Linked DNA regions of Homo sapiens: region 2 is linked to region 1. The links are contacts of gene promoters, found by promoter capture Hi-C in blood cells and fetal thymus (Javierre and others, 2016). All regions are on one chromosome and are shown on one strand. Each heading gives the region's core, a stretch centred on a gene start or on the middle of the fragment in contact. The rest is flanking DNA. Distances are from core to core; before and after follow the strand shown.

Region 1 (6,121 bases), core at 642-3,141:
GGCGAAACCCCATCTCTACAAACATTACAAAAATTAGCCAGGCGTGGTGGCTTGTACCTGCAGTCCCAACTACTCAGGAGGCTGAGGGGGGACAATTGCTTGAGCCCAGGAGGTCGAGGCTGCAGTGAGCCAAGATTGTGCCACTGCACTCCAGCCTGGGCAACACAGTGAGACCTTATTTAAAAAAAAAAAAGAATATGTAGTGACATGGAGTGATGCTCATTTTATAGTAAGTGGGAGGAAAATTCAAGTCTACAAAAGATTATGCACAAGATGATCCCAATTAGGTTAAGTCAAAACCCAAAATAAACCTATATCCAAGAGAGTAAAAAATATTGGGAAGGATATAGGTCAAAAGTTAAAAATGTTTATTTACAGATGGTAAATTTTCTTCTATTTTTCTGCATTTCCCAAAATGTATATTATACATGTATCCTTTTTGCAAAGACAAATAAGGTGATTAAGAACATCAAGTCAGGGCGGGACGCGGTGGCTCACGCCTGTAATCCCAACACTTTGGGAGGCCAAGGCGGGCAGATCACTTGAGGTCAGGAGTTCGAGACCAGCTTGGCCAACATAGTGAACCCCCCCCCCACCATCCCCCGTCTCTACTAAAAACACAAAAAGTAGCCGGACATGGTGATGGACACCTGTAATCTCAGGTACTTGGGAGGATTGAGGCAGGAGAATCGCGTGAACCCAGGAGGCGGAGGTTGCAGTGAGCCAAGATCGCGCCACTGTACTCCAGCCTGGGTGACAGAGCAAGACTCTGCCAAAAAAAAAAAAAAAAAAAAAAAAAATCCAGTTAGACCAATTTTCTGGTAAAGTGTCTTTCTGGTTTCTTGCCTTTTGGTCGCCCATGACACCCATTTTTCAAGCATAGAGTTTCCTCCTCAAAAATAGAGCATGCTGTCACGCGCCGGTAGTCCCAACTACTTGGGAGGCTGAGGTGGAAGGACTTCTTGAGCCTAGGAATTGGAGACAAGCCTGGGCAATATAGCAGGACCCTGTCTCCAAGGAAAAAAAAAAAAAAAAAAAGAATAATGGCGTGTTCCTGTGGTCCCAGCTACTCGGGAGGCTGAGGCGGGAGAATCGCTTGAGCCCAGGAGGTCGAGGCTGCAGTGAGCTGTGATGGCACCATTGCATTCCAGCCTGGGCAAAAAAGCGAGACCTTGTCTCAAATAATAATAATGATAAAGACTCATGTTCGGTCATCGGTGACATTCGCCTTTCTCAGGCCCCCTAGTTGTCCACTCTGCAAAGGACGAGTAATCCTCGGAAGGGGTGGGGCCTCTTAGTGAATGAGGCACAGCAGCGAATCCGTGCTGTTTTAAAAACTTTTTTTCAGAACAAAGCAAACCTAAGGCACAGCCATACCCCGCAGAAAACTTCGAAATCTGCGCCTTGAAAAGGGAAGCCAAAAGGATACGAGCCTCTTTCATAATCTCTCTGGCACGTATTAATGGTTAATAATACTGTATTTTTTAATACACAAAAGAAGAGAATAGTGGCATTGCCCCGTGTGCCCACCCCCAGAGCTAACCGAGAGCGGCCGGGCCAGGGGGCCGGGGGCTGAGCGGCCCGCCGGGTTCCGGGGTGGCGCCGGCCCCGGTGGCCGCGGGCGCTCCCTCGCCATGGCCTAAGCCCGAGGCCGCTCCCCAGCCAGATTCTGGCCTCAGGCACTGCAGAGCCCGCGGCGCTCGCCAACAAGCCCGTTAGACCCACGGGACTTGGCACCCTGGAACGCTCACCATCCCCGGGTCTTCCCTGCGCCCTGGACCCGAGTACCCTGCTGCGGCGTCCCCCTACCACCGAGAGGAGGGCCTAGAGCAGACAAGCCCGCCCCGCCGCTCCTCCCAGCAGCTTCTATCCCGGAAGTTGATGCCGAGCGCAGATCGCTTGCAGCTTGCTAGCTGTGTGGGCTGGGAGGTCTGGTAGGGCTGAGCTTGCAAGAGGATCAACATGCCTGTGAGTTGTTTACATCGGGCTCCGGGTTTGTTTTGGGCTTCTTTACCGAGAGTCATATGGGACGGATGAGTCCGGCTGCCTCTCGGGCCTGTAGTGTCCGAGAGTGGCGAGGCGGCTCAGGTTGCGCAGCGTCTTCGCGCGTGGCGGGCATGTAGTGACTTGCCCGGTCACCGCGGCGCGGCTGGCCCTGCAGGGGCGTGGGCTGCAATTCAGAGGCGGTGGCTGGGAGGGGAACAGTTCTCTGTGTAGCTTATGAGCGGTCTTGGTCTTTGAGGATGCCCCTGAGGTTGTGATCTTTGGGTCTTTTGGCTTTCCCAGTGATTGGTGTTTCTCGCCCCCTCTGCCTTCTTTCGGAAGCGATTTCCTACTTGTTTTCCTTTTTTAAAAACTGTCCTCGTTGTTGCCTTATATATTAATTCCGTCAAGGACGGTCGCTCAGCAAGAATTCCTGTCAGATCAGCTGTTGAGCCACAGGAGCAAAAATCACCCAGGCGCTGACGTTGTCTGGTCTACTTCAGCAGTTTCTACTCTAAGCGAGTCCACAGTCGGGGTCACTTTCTTTGCTTAGCACCTCGACTTCGCGCAGTTTTCATCGAAGACAGTTCATTACGCAGTTGAGTAAAGAAGGACAAAGTTTGCCTTACCATATGTTTCCTGATCGTGCGAAAGCCCTTTTCTAGGGACTTGGAGAACACAAGTATTATGAAAAGTACTGATGAAAGTTATTAACAGGTTTCGAAAAATAACTTTACTATCTGACGTGTTGCTTCTGCCGAGGATGACCGTTATTCCTGTTTTTGCATGTATATTTCACGTATGGTTAAATGTGCCAGCGTTGTGGTTTAAAACTAATAGTAATAATATGCTTCTTTGTTCAGTTGGCTAGAGATTTACTACATCCGTCCTTGGAAGAGGAAAAGAAAAAACATAAAAAGAAACGCCTAGTACAAAGTCCAAATTCTTACTTTATGGATGTAAAATGTCCAGGTAAAATTTGAAATCTTAATTCCTTTACTAAAGAAAATTTCTGTAGGGATTGCTAGTGTGGTGTGTATAGTTAAGATACATTAGAACCCTCTGTTGAGTAGAAGTGGGATTACAGAATTGGAAATGTCAGGGACATTTTCATAATAAATGTACTGAAACCATTGTAGAAACATTTCGGGGTAAGTGAAAACAGGCATTCAAAGGAGATATGCCATTTGACTTAGCAAGTCTTTAAGCTCTTCAGACGATGAGTTTTCTGTTTCATGATACAAAGAAAAGTCTGTTGATTCTTCAGTCTAAAGCTGTGCTGCCCAATACAATGGCCATTAGCTGAATGTGGCTACTGAGCACTTGTGGATAATCAAAATGTGGATACTCAAAATAGAGATGTTCTTTAATTGTAAAATACTCACTGGATTTTGACGATGTAGCACAGAAAAAAAATACATTGATTACATGTTGAAATGATATTTTGGAAATATTAAGTTTAATGAAATATATTATTGATTTTACCTGTTTTTAAAAAATTTTGTGTCGCTGCTAGAAAAGTTTATGTTACACATGTGGCTTGCTGTTTCATAGCACTGAAGTTACTGATTTTTTTACATATTACCAGAAATGTCGAACAGGTGCTGTTTTCCTCTGCTTTTCATTTTTAACATTGCCTTTTTTTTTTTTTAGGTTGCTACAAGATCACCACGGTTTTCAGCCATGCTCAGACAGTGGTTCTTTGTGTAGGTTGTTCAACAGTGTTGTGCCAGCCTACAGGAGGAAAGGCCAGACTCACAGAAGGTATATCATTTGGCATTCTCCAACCCAGTGATGAGATTGATGATTATAAATGTCTCTATCTTCACTGAAAAGTTTAAAGAAATCTTAATGATTACCAAAATAACTTATCTTTCATTGTGTGCTTTCAGTAAAGAATGGCCTGTTCAAATGGATATATTTATACTCTTGACCTTGCAGTGAACTCCATTGACTTATTTTTCTTAGTTTAGAACACATTTATTCACTTAGTTTGCTTAACTTGGAATAAATTAAGTCAGAATAGAAGCAAAAGAATAACTACATGTTATAGGACATGCAGATTTATTTATTTATTTATTTATTATTTTTTTTTTTTATTAGGAGTCTCGCTCTGTCACCCAGGCTGGAGTGCAGTGGCGCCATCTCAGCTCACTGCAACTTCTGCCTCCCCGGTTCAAGTGATTCTCTTGCCTCTGCCTCCCAAGTAGCTGGGACCACAGGCGCGTGCCACCATGCCTGGCTAATTTTTTGTATTTTTAGTAGAGGTGGGGTTTCACTGTGTTAGCCAGGATGGTCTTGATCTCCTGACCTCATGGTCTGCCCGCCTCGGCCTCCCAAAGTGCTGGGATTACAGGCATGAGCCACCTCGCCGGCCAGGACATACAGATTTTTAAAACCATATAGAATTTTAAAATTTCTTTTACAAAATTTTGTTCCATATATATTTAGTACATATAATAGTTTTTTTTTTATCATTGCCAGCTAAGCAACAGATAGCTAATATATAAGTTAAAATGCCAGAGATTTTACTTTTATGAGCAACTGCAATGATTAATATAAAAACCTAATTTTAATTCCTCTTTCACTTTAGTGCAATAAGAAAAAAAAATTATATATATAGTTTCCATAGTAATACTTGTAAATTTGTGATTCCATAATGATGTTATAAATTTGCTTGTGATATTTTGGGGAGCTGTAAGTTCCATGCTCTCACTGGAAGAGTTCAAGTGGATTGGCAGCAAATCTGAGATCTATTTGGTGTGACCTGGTGAGATCTAAATATGGAGTCAGCACATGATTTTTTTAAGAGTAATATTGCTAAGTAATATTGCTAAGTATACTTGGGAGATTTTTGAAACAAAGTATGTCATGTCATGATTTTGGAATTTAGTGCCCATATGCTGACAGATGGTTTAATGGGTCTATCTGTTCTAGAGTTTTCCTAATAGGTCTGAAAATACCTCTAATCAAAATTATTTACTTGAGAAAAGTATTCAGAATAGTTCCTAAAAATTAAGAGTATATCTTCTGACAGCTTGCTTGAAACAGTCTTCACTGTTGAATTCAGGCTCATGGTCTTAAGTAGACTTCATTATAGCATTTGAGAAACAGGAGTGACACTTATAGTCATACCAGAGTAAACTCAGATATGATAGATGTATTATAGCAAATTTCTGGTATAAAAGGATAAATAATCTGTATATGAGTATTAATCCAATATTCTTAAAACTTCAGTATTTTACTTAAAAGTACTTTTTGTCATTAAAATTATAGCAAAGGTAGAATGCACTTGTTTAATATACTCTCATGATTCTTTTGCAGGGTGTTCATTTAGAAGAAAGCAACACTAATGATTCAAACAGCTTCCTGAATTTTAATTTTGTGTTGTCTCACAGAAAGCCTTATCATAAATTCCATAATTCTAATTAATTTACCAAGATAATGTAATTACATTTGGTTTTGTAAGGTATACAGCAGTAATCTCCTATTTTGGTGTCAGTTTTTCAATAAAGTTTTGATTATGGGCAAATCCCCTCTTTTTCTTTTTTTAAAATATATTTGAGTATGCCATACATTTATATATATGGTGTATATGAATTTGGTTTAAACATTTTAAAATTTATTCTGATTAGTTTGTGTCTTTTTTTTTTTTTTTGAGAGAGAGAGTCCTGCTCTGTCACTCAAGCTGGAGTGCAGTGGTGCGATCTCGGCTCACTGCAACCTCCGCCTCCCAGGTCCAAGCAATTCTCTTGCCTTGTCCTCCCAAGTAGCTGGGATTATAGGCACACACCACCATGCCTGGCTAATTTGTGTCTCATTTTCAAGAGTAGAAACCCTAAATATTTTATTTTCATTCCTTTTCCAAATTGCTATGAATGGGATTAAAGGATTACAGATGTAAAGTCTATTATTTGTGAATTCTAAATGTAGTTCTGCTGTTGTACCTGTGGAAACATCTTAAAGAAGTACATATTTTGCACGTCCTGCACGTGTACCCCAGAACTTAAACTATAATTAAAAAGAATAGTTTCAAAAAAATACATATTGATCACAGTGTAATGCCTTGGATTTATGTGGCCTTGCTATACTACTATATAATTTAGGACAGTAACTGCTAGCTGGGGTGTGAGTTATT
Region 2 (6,650 bases), core at 1,580-4,079, 240 kb before region 1:
ATTGCCCTTATATGTTAGACTTGGCAGATACATTTTGGTTTTTTGTTTATTTGTTTGGAGAAGGAGACTTGTTCTGTCACCCAGGCTGGAGTGCAGTGGCACGATCTCCGCTCACTGCAACCTCCATCTCTCGGGTTCAAGTGATTCTCCTGCCTCAGCCTCCCGAGTAGCTGGGATTACAGGCGCCCACCACCATGGCCGGCTAATTTTTGTATTTTTAATAGAGATGGAATTTCACCATGTTGGCCAGGCTGGTCTTGAACCCCTGACCTCAGATGATCCGCCCGCCTCAGCCTCCCAAAGTGTTGGGATTACAGGCATGAGCCACTGCGCCCGGCCTACATTTTGTTTTAAATAATTGCTCAGCATTGTACAAGTTGAACACCTGTTATAGCACTCGGAGGACTTAATCACATAAAGAAAATGACTAGGAGTTTATAGTACATGTTTTCTTTTTTTTTTTTTTTTTTTTTTTTAATGAGATGGCGTCTTGCTGTGTTGCCCAGGCTGGAGTGCAATGGTGCAATCTCGGCTCACTGCAGCCTCCGCCTGCTGGGTTCAAGCAATTCTCCTGCCTCAGCCTCCTGAGTAGCTGATACTACAGGTGCCCGCTACCATGCCCGGCTAGTTTTTATATTTTTAGTAGAGATGGGGTTTCACCATGTTGGCCAGGTTGGTCTCAAACTCCTGACCTCAAGTGATCCACCCATCTTGGCCTCCCAAAGTGCTGGGATTACAGGCATGAGCCACCCCACCCGGCCTACAGTATATGTTTTCATTCCTATTTGCATGGTGCTGAGAATTGCTGAAGATAACACCACTTCTGGAAATTCACACTCAATCTTACTGGAACTGAGATTAGCCAAGAAAAGGATTACTTCATTCTTACTAAAAACTTATCTTTCCTACAAATCGTGGTCTTCATTATTTAACCTGATGAATAAACATTTATTGGGCATCTACTGTGCGTGAAAAACTGAACTAGAGATAGAAATATGGATAAAACACAGTTTTTGCTCTGCTGGCAACAAACTATAAGGCAAATCTGACAGATAAGTGCTCCAGGGAGTATTGAAGAAGGAATGATTTACACCAATGGCATGAACTAGAGAAAACTTCTTGAAGACAACTTTTGTTCCGAGCTTTGAAGAATGAGTAGCATTTCTCAATGTGAGAAAGGGGAGAGAGAATTCCATACAGAGGTAAACGTATGGTAAACAGAGGGTTAAAGTGCACAGCATTTTTTGGGGAAAACATCACCCAGGGTAGTTGGAGTGTAGGGTGTGTTATGGGAAGTAGAAAAGGAAGTGAGGCCAGCTTGTTAAGACCTTTGAATGTGATATTAAAGGGCTTACATGAGGGCTTTAAAGGCCCTTGATTAAAACATTCTCATGATTATAACTATTTTAGAAGTGTCATTCTGGCTTCTGGATACTGACACAATGGGGACCCAACAGGGGCTCCTGGCTATCTCTGTCAACCTAGTTCTGGGAGTGTCTCAGAAATGGTGCAACTGATGGATCTGAGAATCTAATGTGATAATTGTGAGAAGTTTCTAGAGGGACAGCAAATGGTTGGAGCCCAGTGTATGTGTTTGCGACTGCAGACTGCAGGGGAAAAGGGACAGTGCTGTAGGTGGGGAAGATTTTATCTTAGACTATTTTCCTCCCTTGTATTTCCATGGGCAGATTATAGTCTTCCCCAACTCCACTGCAAGACAGAACAGTATCACTAGTCCTGCACCAGCAGGAGATGAAGCTTGTGGGTACATCAGGGGAAAGGAAGGAGATAACAGGTAAAGATACACCCACATTCCTTCTAAGAACTGCCACTCCTCAGCATAGTATTGGAGGTCCTGGCCAATGTGATAAGACAAGAAGTACTAGGTATAGGATTTGAAAGGAAGTAGCAAAACTGTCGTTATGTACAGGTGATCTGATTATCTACATAGAAAACCTCACAGACTTAATAGAAAAACTTTTAGAACTAATACTTACGTTCAGCAAGGATGTCAAGAAGAAGATCTGTTTAGAAAACTCAGTTGCATTCTTCTACAACAGAACATTCAACCAGGAAACCTAATAGAAAATAAGATAATTTTCAGAAGAGCAACACAACTAAAAAATCAACTTAATATTCAAAATAAATTTTTGGAGAAAAATATAAAACTATCAAAGGACATTAGACTTAAGGAAAGAGATATGCCACATTGGTAGACAAGACTACTTAACATGTAAAGATAACAATTCTCCCAAAATTAGTCTAAAAATTCAAGGCACTTTCAGTATAGTCCCAACAGAATTTTTTGAGGGAATAAAAAAAGCATATTCAAAATTTATATAGAAGAAAAAAACAAGGTCCACCATCAGTTGAGCCAATTTCAGAAAAAGAACAAAGAGGAATGACTTGCCCCAGTATACTCCAATGCTATATAATAAAACATTACGGCACTGTGGTGTAGAAGCATGGAAATAGAGTAAGGGTGAGAAAGTGTCAGAAATTCATAGGTATGCTTATGTGTTTTGTTGTATGTGCACCTGATGTATGAAAAACAAGTAAATGGGGAAAGGATGGGTTGCTTAGTAGACAGTGTAGGGAAGATTGGCTCACTACATGGAAAAAAATTAAGCTGCATTCCTAACACCATAAGCAAAGGTGAACTTCAGAAGAATTAAAGATATAAATGTGAAACACCACCCTACAAAACATAGATATGCATGTGTATGCATATATATACGTCAGAATATATTTATGACCTTAGAAGTGGGGAAGAATTTTTTTAAAAAACATTCAAAAAGTGTAACTGTATTCCCTGCCCCTCAAATTGATGACTATATCAAAATTAACAATAATGACGATGGCAGATATAGTTATCTAAATGAACAGACAGGTGATAGACTGAGAAAAAAATATTTGAGACTCCCAAGACCAGCAAGAGATTATTATACAGAATATATAAGAAAGTCCTACAAATCAATCAGAAAAAGAGAATACAACAGGAAAATGGGCAAGGATATGAATATGTGACTCACCCCAAAAAACCCACTGGTTTTGCTCAACCTCACTAGTTTTTTTGTTTTGTTTTGTTTTGTTTTGAGACAGAGTCTCACTCTGTTGCCCAGGCTGGAGTGCAGTGGCACGATCTCGGCTCACTGCAACCTCCGCCTCCTGGGTTAAAGTGATTCTCCTGCCTCAGCCTCCCGAGTAGCTGGGACTACAGATGCCCGCCACCACGCCCAACTAATTTTTGTATTTTTAGTAGAGACAGGGTTTCACCATGTTGGCCAGGATGGTCTTGATCTCCTGACCTCATGATCCACCCGCCTCAGCCTCCCAAAGTGAACCTCACTAGTTCTTAGATAAATGAAAATTAAAACAATAGCAAGACTAAGTCTTTTTACCCATGAGGTTGGAAAATTAGGAGACTGGATAATACCAAACTCTGGCAGGTTGTAAGGAAACAAAACGGAAAGGAAACAAACACTGTATTCTAGGGCATGTCAAAGATAGAGCCAGGCACCGGTTAAAGCAGCCAGGACAGGTTTTATTCAGGGACTACTGCAATAAGGAAAAAGAGTAGAGTGTGAACAGAGTACCTGATGCAAAGTACTGGAGACTATTTAAAGATTAAGGGAAAGGCACTGTGGGGTGTTAAGGGAGGGTTAGTCTATGTGATTGCGCCACCTGGATTTGTTCACTGGTGCTTATCCGAAGGATAAACACACTTCTCCTAAAGTAAGGCATCCATAGCAGTTAGGCCCTTATCCTCCTGGGAGAAGAGCTATAGCTCCCTGAATATCTGCATTTCAAAGAGAGGGCTCTCAGATCCTTGAGGAGACCGTTTTGGGTGGGAGATTTACATCTCAAAGGGCAAAGGAAAGATTTATAATTGCAAGCTTTCTAAAATAACTGCTCTAAGAGGGAGCTCAGGGGCTTATCTGCCTATCACCAGGTTTTGGCCAGAATAAACAGTAAATTCTCCTGGCAGCATTGAGCTTCCAGGCAAGCATTTTAAGGGAGGCTGGTATCATCCTAGGGACATGGTCTTAAGCTGCTAGAAGCCATGCTAGGGTTTGGTCAAGTCTCTTAGTGCAGGGGTTTGGACAGAGTCATTACGGGCAGAGAGTTCTGCAGTTCGCAGTCACAACCTAGACGTACTTTGTGAAAATAAATATGCATCAGCAATTCCACTCCTAGACATATGCTTCCGAGAAACTCTTACACAGGTCCTAAAGGATCACGGACAAAAACACTCACCTCACTGTAGTACTGGTAGCAGGGAGCTGGGGCATTTGCTAGGGGAATGGATAAGTAAATGCGGTAGGTAGGTTTAAAAACCAAACCACACAAAATAACATATTTTTGTTAAATATAGTGAACTGCAAATTTCTCTTCAAAGAATCAGCACGTCAGTAGTTTCAGCTCTCTTATTCTTTGATTCTCCATTTTAAAGTTTAACTTCCTGGTTCTCTTTGCCCACTTGCTTCTAGTTTAAGTAAACAACTTTCCCCGTAGTCCTAATCAGTAGTTCACATCTGTTCCCCTGGTCACCTGCTCCATCTTGACTCATTGTGGTCATCTTCTTTGACCTGAGTCACCCTTGGTCACCTTCTCTGACCTAAGTCACCTTTGGTTACCTGTTCCTAACTGTCCTTCCTGCCAAACTACTCACTCCGCCACTCTGACTCATACCCCTGCCCCTTTAAAATAGCCAATCAAAATTAGCTTAGACTGTGCGGTCCAACCCTAGCCAACAGGGGAACAACACAGCAGCAGGGCCTACCTGTGTCAGGAATCAGAACTCCTGCCCCTCCCCTGTCCAGGTGTGCTCTCGCCATTGTTCCATCTGTGATGAGCACCCTTTCTGCAGAAAGTAAAAATTGCTTTGCTGAGAGAATTAAATGTATGTTCGAGTGCTATTTCTTTGTGGCACCAGGGAACAAACATTTCTAACATTTTGTAAGTTCACATACATACCCAAGAATACATTATCACAATATCAGAGTGACAGCGTGTGGGAAGAAGGAGAATGGGTATCAGAAATGAAGGTGGGGGGGAAATCAAATAAATAAAACAAGAGCAACTCCTTACACGATGGATAATGAGTGAGCCCCATACTCCACTCACTACAGTTGCAGTCAGAAACAGAGAGAGGGAGAGAAGAGAGGGGAGAGGATGAGAAGGTGGGAAAAACAGAAAGTGTGTCACTCTGGCAGGATGGACAATGACTGAGAGGCTAGGGTGGGAGAGACCAGGGAAGAGGGGATGGGGCAGTGGAGGTGGGAGATGACAGTGGTTGGAAGTAGAGCAGAGGCAGCGGAAATACAAATAATCAATGCTGACTAAGGACCTATCATGTGCTAGGCACCATTAGGTTCTTGCATTCCGTTTGGGGATGGATCCCAGAAGCCCCCTTAAGATGGAAACGCTGATATGGTGAATGTAGGGTGGAGTTCAGGTTGATCCCAAAGGTCCTAATCTGGGCAACTAGGAGGATGATGGTGGCTTTAACTGAACTGAGAAATAAATAAGAAGGGAAATACACAAACTCACATTCATGGCTTGGGATCTCCCAATCCATCACTTTGAAAATCAAGATTCTGAGAAGGCATTCCTATTTAGGAGGAAGAGGAGTGACATTCATTGTGTGGCTAGAATAATTGTTATTTTCATAACAATACCAAGTCTGAGTGCTTATTACAGGTTAGGTAGTGTGCTTAAGATGTTGACACTCATTAGCTCATTCACAACCCTATAAAATAGGTATTGCTATAATCTCTCTTTTTATTGATTAGAAAACTGATCTTAGTGAAGTTAAGTACTTGCCCCAGGTCACAGAGCTTCTGATTCCTTAGCCGTAATATGTATGGATTCCACTCTACAGGCGTAATTTTTATATAATTGTCAAAGTAGTCCATGAATAGACTTATTATCTTCATTGTCTTCATGTATCTCTAGTAAGTGGTAGAGGTGGGATCAAAACCAAAGTTTGTGCTTTTTTTTTTTTTTTTTTGAGATGGAGTCTTGCTGTGTTGCCCAGGCTGGAGTGCAGTGGCACAATCTCAGCTCACTGCAACCTCCGCCTCCTGGGTTCAAGCCTCTGAGTATTCTCCTGTCTCAGCCTCCTGAGTAGCTGGGATTACAGGCACCCACCACCATGCCTGGCTATTTTTTGTATTTTTTAGTAGAGATGGGGTTTCCCCACGTTGGCCAGGCTGGTCTCAAACTCCTGACCTCAGGTGATCTGCTCGCCTCGGTCTTCCAAAGTGCTGGAATTACAGGTGAGAACCACCGTGCCCGGCCTATAGTCTTTTCACAACACACATCTGCATATCTCTCTCAACTATTGCTCAAACTGTCTCTCATGCTGCCCATTCAAACTCTACCTATAGAGGAAAAGAGTCTAAAGAAACATATTAACCAATTGCAATCCATAGACCTTGTTTGGATCCCAGTTCAAACAAATGGTTAACAAAAACACTTAGAGGATAATTGGGAAACATGATATTAAGGAATTATTATTGATTTTTATGTGTGCTGATAACATCATGATTATGTCTAAATAAGGCAGTCCTTTTTAAAGAGAAATATCTATAGGTGAAATACTAACTACAAGGGTTCTCAGAGCAAGGCCCTCAGATCAGCAGCAT

Evidence for each region. Contacts are between HindIII fragments. The CHiCAGO score rates a contact against its expected background, and 5 or more counts as called.
Region 2: a fragment that was not itself captured here is called in contact with the fragment with the promoter of RPS27L in region 1 in 1 of 17 cell types (endothelial precursors); the score reaches 5.1 in endothelial precursors.

What each region holds. Positions count from the first base shown.
Region 1 is chr15:63,153,247-63,159,367 of GRCh38, reverse strand. It overlaps RPS27L (ribosomal protein S27 like), which reads left to right and starts at 1,891. Exons shown (of 4, transcript NM_015920.4): 1 at 1,891-1,968; 2 at 2,847-2,955; 3 at 3,637-3,747; 4 at 5,308-6,121. The coding sequence starts at 1,963. The coding sequence ends at 5,336. RefSeq lists a silencer at 1,518-1,617 and enhancers at 1,799-2,372, 1,768-2,427, 2,578-2,667, 1,952-3,151. The HindIII fragment of the contact is 11,776 bases long and covers 1-6,121 here.
Region 2 is chr15:63,393,815-63,400,464 of GRCh38, reverse strand. LINC02568 (long intergenic non-protein coding RNA 2568) reads right to left here. Exons shown (of 7, transcript NR_120375.1): 2 at 5,554-5,614; 3 at 4,784-4,864; 4 at 1,998-2,078. Among named protein-coding and RNA genes, the nearest start is that of LINC02568, 6.9 kb to the right of the region's middle. The HindIII fragment of the contact is 2,138 bases long and covers 1,761-3,898 here.